Linked DNA regions of Homo sapiens: all the other regions are linked to region 1. Evidence: promoter capture Hi-C in human tissues and cell types (Jung and others, 2019). All regions are on one chromosome and are shown on one strand. Each heading gives the region's core, a stretch centred on a gene start or on the middle of the fragment in contact. The rest is flanking DNA. Distances are from core to core; before and after follow the strand shown. Region 1 holds the start of PGF (placental growth factor). Region 2 has its middle 4.2 kb from the start of TMED10. Region 3 overlaps TMED10 (transmembrane p24 trafficking protein 10).

What was found. The method cuts DNA at HindIII sites, captures the fragments that hold promoters and counts their contacts. A contact is called where the count stands out against the background at its distance.
Region 2: a contact is called between a fragment that was not itself captured here and the fragment with the promoter of PGF in region 1, in 2 of the 25 tissues and cell types used here (aorta and pancreas).
Region 3: a fragment that was not itself captured here is called in contact with the fragment with the promoter of PGF in region 1 in 1 of the 25 tissues and cell types used here (thymus).

Annotation. Positions count from the first base shown.
Region 1 is chr14:74,954,090-74,957,137 of GRCh38, reverse strand. It overlaps PGF (placental growth factor), which reads left to right and starts at 1,541. Exons shown (of 7, transcript NM_002632.6): 1 at 1,541-1,970. The coding sequence starts at 1,896. RefSeq lists silencers at 1,395-1,494, 1,675-1,744. The HindIII fragment of the contact is 10,779 bases long and covers 1-3,048 here.
Region 2 is chr14:75,179,310-75,182,357 of GRCh38, reverse strand. No RefSeq gene overlaps it. Among named protein-coding and RNA genes, the nearest start is that of TMED10, 4.2 kb to the right of the region's middle. The HindIII fragment of the contact is 5,531 bases long and covers 1-3,048 here.
Region 3 is chr14:75,128,735-75,131,782 of GRCh38, reverse strand. TMED10 (transmembrane p24 trafficking protein 10) reads left to right here. Exons shown (of 5, transcript NM_006827.6): 5 at 1-314. Among named protein-coding and RNA genes, the nearest start is that of NEK9, 3.2 kb to the right of the region's middle. The HindIII fragment of the contact is 3,127 bases long and covers 1-3,048 here.

The sequences.
Region 1 (3,048 bases), core at 292-2,791:
TGGGCCCAGGAAGCAGTTTGTCTACCCCACGAACCCCAGCTTGTTTGAAGCTCGTCAGGATGTTCCTTGCAGACCCCGCTTAGCCAGCTGGTGACTGGCCCCCGCCTCCTGAACCTCCAGGCTTAGGGCCGGCCAGGCAGGCAGGCTGCATCTCTGGCAGCCCCTCGTGGGTGGGCAGGCAGGCAGGCAGTGGACGCAGAGGTCACTGGGGTGAGAGCTGGGGCTGCCCTGGCCTCCCTGCTCTTGGCTGGAATGTGAGCTGTAGGGGCCACTTCCCAGGCCTCGCTCCTCCCCCACAGCCACCCACCAGCCCCAGGCCCAGCCAACTCGTGACTCCCAGTCCTGCCAGGTTCCTGCAGCCTGGGAGCTGGACACAGAAGGCAGTGAGAGGAGTGGTGGTAAAGAAAGATCCAGAACCAAGGGAGGGCACACACAAACGCAGAGAGAGAGGCACAGTCTTCACCCACAGAGACAGACACACACACGCAGAGACAGGCAGGCGTGCAGACTCACAGTCCCACCGAAAGATACACATTCAGACACTTCCAAACACACCCAGATACACAGCGGACACGAACAGATCACACAAGCATACAGAGATACAGAGAGACCTGACCCCCACACAGAGGCGTATTTGGAGGTACAGTAGTCACACGTACTCAGACCACACAGAGGCTCAGATGCACCGCTCATGGATATTCACAGACCCGCAAATGCCCATGCACACGCGCAGATGCACACAGACCCCCGCGCAGCGTACAGTTCCTCCTCGGCCAGGGACCAGGAGGAGATGCCTGAGTGAGACCACTCTCTACCACAGGGGGCTGCCCCGCAGGGAGGGCCTGGGAAGACTGCTTCCCAAGGAGGCAACAGGCCTGATCCTCCAGCCAGGTGCCCTGAGAGGTTTCCTGTGGGAGGCCCACTGTGTCCGTGCCTGGCTAGGAGGGTGGTAGGTCGGGTTAGAGTTCTGGAGTCACGTAGGCTTGGGTTTTGTCTCTGCCAGTTCCTCGGACACACAGATGCGCGCACACACACAACACACACACACTTTCCAAGAATGCCTATGTCCATTCGACATATGCAGGCAGGGGTGCTCTCGGAGCCTCGGTTTCTTCATCTATATAACCTGGCTAGGAATCCCTTGGCCCCCTAGGGGTGTGGGCATGGCTGCCTTCCCAGGCATCCCGGACGGCCCTTCCTGCAGAGGCGGTTAGATCATGAGCCTTGACGGCTGACGCTGGACTCCTGGATGCCCCCATCCCAGGTGACCGCCCTGAGAGCCGAAGCAGGGCTGTGGGCCCTGTGGGCGGGCGCGGCGCGGCCCGGGGAGCTGCGGGCTGGGCTCGGCGAGGCGTCTGGACCTGCCGAGAGCCCCTCGCACGCACTGCGGGCTCCGGCGCTGCGGGCTGGCCGGGCGCTGCGGGCTGACCGGGCGCTCCGGGAACTCGGCTCGGGAACCTCGTCTGCGGTGGGCGGGGCCGGCCCGGAGCCCCGCCCCGGCTCAGTCCCTGAAACCCAGGCGCGGACCGGCTGCAGTCTCAGAAGGGAGCTGCTGTCTGCGGAGGAAACTGCATCGACGGACGGCCGCCCAGCTACGGGAGGACCTGGAGTGGCACTGGGCGCCCGACGGACCATCCCCGGGACCCGCCTGCCCCTCGGCGCCCCGCCCCGCCGGGCCGCTCCCCGTCGGGTTCCCCAGCCACAGCCTTACCTACGGGCTCCTGACTCCGCAAGGCTTCCAGAAGATGCTCGAACCACCGGCCGGGGCCTCGGGGCAGCAGTGAGGGAGGCGTCCAGCCCCCCACTCAGCTCTTCTCCTCCTGTGCCAGGGGCTCCCCGGGGGATGAGCATGGTGGTTTTCCCTCGGAGCCCCCTGGCTCGGGACGTCTGAGAAGATGCCGGTCATGAGGCTGTTCCCTTGCTTCCTGCAGCTCCTGGCCGGGCTGGCGCTGCCTGCTGTGCCCCCCCAGGTAAGAGCTACCCCCACCTAGCCTGGCTCCCCAGACCTCCCCATCCCAGCACTGGAAGCATGGGACTCTGAAATCACAGACCCACTCCAGGGAGCAGCAACTCCAAGGATGTCCACACACTTCCTAAAGGCCAGGCTGGACTTCTTTCGTTTGGGAAGAGACCTCAGGCTGGCTGTCCCCCAGGTCCTGGGGGCTGTCTTGGTGGGGGCAGGGAAGCCACAGGGAGGGAGGGAGGGAGGGAGGTTTCCTGTCTGGCCCCTGGAGCCCTGGTGGCTTTGCTAAAAGCATCTGTCCACTAATCCCAGGCGGGTCCCTGGCCTTGTGGTCAGGGTCGAGGCCCCATGGCCAACCAGGCGTCCCCAGGACCTCTGACCTGGCCTGGTGGGGGTGGCGGAGGAGCCAGCTGAAGAAGCTGTTGGTGGGGAGGCTGGCCCTGCCCCCACCAGGGCTCAGGACTGAGCCGTGGGCTCCTGGGTGGGCTGGGGACGAGACAAGGGGTCTCGCTGTGCCTTTTCTCCTGGGTGGGTGGCCGGAGGTCCTGAGTGCAGGGCCTGGGGAAGTGAGCAGGGCCCTTTTCCCAGGAGCCGGGTGAGTCTGGCTGGGAGCCAGCTTGGGCAGTGAAATCCTGACAAAGCCAATGAACTGCCTTCCCACTGCGTTGTCCCACTGCCCTGGGAGTCCCCAGCCCCAGCCCAAGAGTAGGAGTGGGCTGGGCAGTCCCTGAGGAGTCCGAGCAGCCCAGCCACCCGCCTGCCTGCTGCAGGGCTGGCCAGAGGTGTAACGTTACCGGCTGCACCAGCTCATGGCGCCACCCGCTCCAGCCCCTCAGCTCCCACCAGCTGATCACCTCCCCCTGGGCTCTGGCACCCAGCCAAGGCGGGCTGTGCAGGGCCCAGCAGGGTTGGCCTGGGGGCTGGGTAGAAGGCAGACCCGCAGGATTGGAAGATCTTTGGGATGCAGCAGGCCAAGGGTCTCCAAAAGCTTCTAGCCTCCCATCCTTTTCCAAATGAGGAAAACTGAGGCCAGAGAGGGGTGGGACCTAACCTACCCAGGGTCCAGTGAGTTTTTAGTGGTACTC
Region 2 (3,048 bases), core at 268-2,767, 230 kb before region 1:
CCTGGAGGACAGAGCACGATTCCATCTCAGAAAAAATAAAAAATCTAAGGCTGGGCGCGGTGGCTCACACCTGTGATCCCTGCACTTTGGGAGGCCGAGGTGGGCAGATCACCTGAGGTCAGGAATTCGAGACCAGCCTGACCAACATGGAGTAACCCTGTCTCCACTAGAAATACACAATTAGCCAGATGTGGTGGTGCATGCCTGTAATCCCAGCTACTCGGGAGGCTAAGACAGGAAAATCACTTGAACCCTGGAGGCGGAGGTTGCAGTGAGCTGAGATTGCACCATTGCACTCCAGCCTGGGCAACAAGAGTGAAACTCTGTCTCAAAAAAATAAAAATAAATAAAAAATATAAAAATAAAGTCATGGAATTGTATGACATCACCTGGAATGCAGCAGAAGTTTCCAGGACCAGGTCCTGGGGGACTCTAACATTTAGAAGACCCATTGAAGAGGCCCTTGGAATCACTCTCTGGGTCAAAGAGTATGGCATGTGGCAAATATTGCCAAATTGCTCTCCAAAGGGGTCTTTTGTATCCTCACAAAACCCATCTTGTCTTAGCTATGTAAACACACACTCCATGTGGTGCTATACACATGAGTAGGCAGGAACAACTAAGTCAGGAATCCTTGATGGCTTCTGCATGGAGCTGGGGAGTCTCAAGCCACACTGCAGGATTAGGCTGGTGCAAGGAGGTGTCAGGAAAGGGTCTAAGCACTCCCAACCACAGAATCACTAAGCAAGCTTGTTACAAATGCAGATTTTTCTTTTTTTCTTTTTTCTTTTTTTTTTTTTTTTTTTGAGACATGGTCCCACTCTGTCACCCAGGCTGGAGTGCAGTGGTGTGATCTTGGCTCACTGCAACCTCTGCCTTCTGGGCTTAAGCAATCTTCCACTTCAGCCTCCAGAGTAGCTGCGACTACAGGCATACACCACTATGTCCAGCTAATTATTGGTATCTTTTGTAGAGATGGGGTTTTGCCATGTCACCCAGGCTGGTCTGGAACTCCTGGACTCAAGCAATCTGCCTGCCTCAGCCTCCCAAAGTGCTGGGATTATAAGCGTGAGCCACTGTGCCCAGCCCGAATGCAAATTTTTAGTAAGAGCTTCTGATTCACCATCTGGGGTGAGGTGTATTTTAAACATGCCCCCTCTTACACAAAGGAAAATTTGAGAAACCTATGGCTTAGGGATAGATTGGCAGAGGGTGTCTTCATGATATTTCTTCACCTCCAGAGGCTCCAGTGGCTCAGGAATCTTAGGTGGATTTGGCTGGGGAAGTTTCAGGATGACAGGACGGCAGAAGACTGCTGGCCAGAGAGAAGCATTTACTGTAGTTATGGGACACTTTCCATTTGCTCTCCAAGTCAAATGAGGCCTTTCTACCATGCAGATGTAAAACGGTATCTTTTTTTTTTTTTTTTTTGAGTTGGAGTCTCGCTCTGTCGCCCAGGCTGGAGTGCAGTGGCGCAATCTCAGCTCACTGTAACCTCTGCCTCCTGCGTTCAAGCGAATCTCGTGCCACAGCCTCCCAAGTGGCTGGGATGCAGGCGTGAGCCACCACACCCAGCCAATTTTTGTATTTCTAGCTGAGATGGGATTTCACCATGTTGGCCAGGCTGGTCTCGAACTCCTGACCTCAAGTGATCTGCCTGCCTCAGCCACCCAAAATGTTGGGATTATAGGCGTGAGCCACCGCGTCTGGCCCAATGGTAACTTCTTTTTTTTTTTTTTCTTGAGATGAGTCTCGCTCTTTCGCCAGGCTGGAGTGCCATGGCGCAATCTCAGCTCACTGCAACCTCCACCTCCCAGGTTCAAGCAATTCCCCTGCCTCAGCCTCCCAAGTAGCTAGGACTACAGGCACGTGTCACCACGCTGGGCTAATTTTTTGTATTTTAGTAGAGACGGGGTTTCACCATGTTGGCCAGGATGGTCTCCATCTCCTCCTGACCTCATGATCCGCCTGCCTCAGCCTCCCAAAGTGCTGGGATTATAGGCTTGAGCCACGATGCCCGGCCGGTAACTTCTTTAACACAGGTGCAGGCTTAAAAGTCTTGGTTCCATTCCACAGCATACAGAGGAGAATTGTTTTTGTTTGTTTGTTTTTCTGTGTCCTTATATAGAAACAAGAGTGTATTTTCCATTTTTTTTAAGAAAAGATAGACATGTTGGTGACACTGAAACTGTACCTATGCTTTAGATACATTATGGATTAAACAAATTTATGTGAAAACAGCTAAAGAATAATGGGAGAAATTTGTGGTTGCGCTTTCTAAGGTACCAGTCTTAAATTCATTGTACCATTATTTATTGTACCTAAGTGCTAGGCACTGTTTTAGGTTCAGAAGATAAAACAGTGAAAAAATAGATAAAAATCCCTGCCCTCACAAAACAGACATTCTAGTTAGGGAGACAGACTAATAAACACAATAAGTAAGTAAAATGTATGCTTTATTTGATAGTAATGAGTGCTAAGGGGAAAATTATAAAGGAGGGAAGAAAGACAGGAGGTGTTGGAGGATGGGGATAAGTAAGACTACAGGACAAGAAAGGACTGGAAGCCGGGCGCAGTGGCTCACACCTGTAATCCCAGCACTTTGGGGGCTGAGGTGGGCAGATCGCAAGGTCAGGATGTTCAAGACCAGCCTGACCAACATGGTGAAACCCTGTCTCTTCTAAAAATACAAAAATTAGCCGGGCATGGTGGTGCGCGCCTATAATCCCAGCTACTCAGGAGGCTGAGGCAGGAGAATCACTTGAACCCAGGAGGGGCAGGTTGTGGTGAGCTGAGATCGCACCACTGCGCTCTAGCCTGGGCAACAGAGCCAGACTCCATCTCAAAAAAGAAAAGAAAGGACTTGAGAGCTGTGACACAGAAAAGTAACTGCTGTGCATCTGAGTTTCTTCATCTTTAAAATAAGAAATAATAGCATCTTCCTGAGGATAGCTCAGGCCCCTAGACTGCTTTTGTCACTTTTAAGCTTATGAGGTTTGGGGTACTGACAAAGATTCTCTCCTTGACCAAACTTTACCCACGCTGTTC
Region 3 (3,048 bases), core at 297-2,796, 170 kb before region 1:
ACTTTGGTTTTATCTAAAAAGTAAATGTATTTGCCTTTGACAAAAGACTGACACAAGAGCAAATAAGCTTTAAAATCGGGTGTTATGTGCTTTCCTCCATTTTTGAGCATATTATCCAAAATGGTCTGTATAATATAAATGAGAATGATGCAGTTTAAGTAAGCCTTGTTATACCATTGTCATGGACCCCTGTCATAAAGCCATTTCTTGGTTTGTTTGGGAAAGAGGCATATGGGATTTATACAGATTCACTTGTAAATGTTGGATTGGGGATTTTTGTGTAAATTTTCTCAAATAAAGGCTAGCAGAAACCATTTTAGGTGTACTGTTACTCTTGAGTACTTCTATGTCTGGATTGGTGATAATTCTTCCATATTTCTCTTTTAAATTATGGCAAATTATACCTGATGAATTAGAGAAAAAATATTGTTATTCTTCAGTTACTGCAGATCGATAGTTTATATGAGCTAGTAAAAGATTATCATATTTTGTATGTAATATATGTAAATTATATATATATATATAATTAAGAATCCTTAATTATGCATCCTCAGACCAAATATGGTTCTGTAAGCTAGGCATTTTATTCTCTTTATCTTCTCTCTTTTGGAAACTGTTACTATTAGGTTCGCACAAAAGTAATTGTGGTTTTTGCAATTAAAATTGCAATTGCATAGAATCACTCCTACAGAGAGCCATCTCCCCTGCCTTTCATTCCTAAAAGACCCCCACCCCCCACCCCCGGTATATGAATCCTCAGGACTCACTTTTTAGGCCTATCATATCCAATGCAAAACCCCACTCCAGGAGGTAAACGTCTTTTCTCCTCTCCTTTCACTTACAGTTGAACATTTTTCACAAAGCGACTTTCCAAGAGCCAATATGAAGTGCTTTGCACACCCACTGGCTGGCCTCTTATTTATCCTCTTATCTCCATTCTCCCTCAAATAAATTTTATTATGAATCCATAGTGTGTAAAGTAGTGGTTCCCATTATTGGGGTATAATTTTTTTTTCTTTTCTTTTTTTTTTTTTTTGAGACGGAGTTCACTCTTGTTGCCCAGGCTGGAGTACAATGGCATGATCTCGGCTCACCACAACCTCCGCCTTCCGGGTTCAAGCAATTCTCCTGCCTCAGCCTCCCGAGTAGCTGGGATTACAGGCATGTACCAGCACGCCCAGCTAATTTTGTATTTTTAGTAGAGATGGAGTTTCATTATGTTGGCCAGGCTGGTCTTGAACTCCCAACCTCGTGATCCACCCACCTCAGCCTCCCAAAGTGCTGGGATTACAGGCGTGAGCCACCGTGCCCGGCCCAATACATGCTTTATAAATCATTTATTTAGTCTGCTGCAGTGGTGTCTCATAAAATGTTGAGCTGCATGTATAATTTTAAATTTTCTAGTATCACATTAAAGAAGTAAAAAACAGGTAAAATTTGCTGATTCTCCAGCCTCCCGAGTAGCTGGGATTACAGGCACATGCCACCACGCCCAGGTAATTTTTGTATTTTTAGTAGAGATGGGGTTTCACCATGTTGGCCAGGATGGTCTCGAACTCCTGACCTCGTGGTCTGCTCACCTTGGCCTCCCAAAGTGCTGGAATTATAGGCATCAGCCACTGTGCCCAGCCGAAAATTATTTTTAGTAGTGTATTTAACCTAATATACCCAAAATATTATTTCAACATATAGTTAATATAAAAATGGTTAATGAGATGTTTTGCATTCCATTTTTCATATAAAATCTTGAAAATCCAGTGTGCATTTCAAGCTATACCGCATCTATAGCTTAAAATTAGACTAGCCACAATTCAAGTGTTGAGTAGCTATATGTAGCTAATGGCTACCGTGGCAGACAGTGAAGGGTATAAACTTGGGTTGGTCTTTGGTAGATTCTTTCATCTTGACAGTAACTCTATGGCCCCTGGGAATTTGCCATTCACAAATTGGAAACTAATGCAAAATAGCATTCTAACCATTCACTTGTTAAAGTACAATGTGGAAATAGTTTGGTTTCAACCAAAGGCGCTTTAAAATTTTACACCTTGGCCAGGTGCAGTGGCTCACACCTGTAATCCCAACACTTTAGCAGGCCAATCACTTGAGGTCAGGAGTTCGAGAACCAGCCTGGCCAACATGGCAGAATGCCCTCTCTACTAAAAATACAAAAATTAGCTGGGCATGGTGGCGGACGCTTGTAATCCCAGCTACTCAGGAGACTGAGGCATGAGAATCACTTGAACTTGGGAGGTGGAGGCTGCAGTGTGCTGAGATCATGCCACTGCACTCCATCCTGAGTGACAGAGTGAGACTGTCTCCAAAAAAAAAAAAAAAGTTATACCATTAGAATAAATGTTGACTATTTTTGAACTTATAAATATTCAAAGGTAAGACAATTAGTTTCAGTTATATCCAATATAATGAAGAATTCAGCAGGAATGTCTCTGCTCTATAATAGGACATGTTTCTTCTAGGCTTGTAGTATCTATGCATTATCATTAGAACAATTCAGTTTCAGGCCAACCACGTTATAGAAAACTAGTTCCTCGTTGCAAAGGTGCCAGAAAAAAATGAATTTTTAAGCTTAGGCTGAAATCTATTCAGCCTCTTTGAAAGTCAGCATTCCCAATTTTAAGTAATTGGTTTTTTCCCATTCAACTGAGAAACAATTTATTGAGCATCTTTTCTGTTTAACAGAGTTAATCGAGAATAACAGAATTAAGTTAATAGAATTAACAGATTTAAGCCAAACTAAACTCTGGAGTTTATCTAGATAAACAAGAGGCAATACCTATCCTCAAAGTGCCTTCTAATTAATAGGAGGATGTAGATGGAATGGCCTCTACCTGAAATGATCTCTCTACTTTGTTTAGACTTAACATTTTGTATATTCCTGCACTCACACAGCAAGTTTGGCTTGGACAGATGCCACTCCTAAATGCCTCTCTAGAATCTTGCACTTTAATAGCCCTTATAGAAACTGTTTTAATTGCCTGGTGGTTTTCTGTTACATGTAAGCTCTCTTAAAGTAGGAACTTTTCACAAATC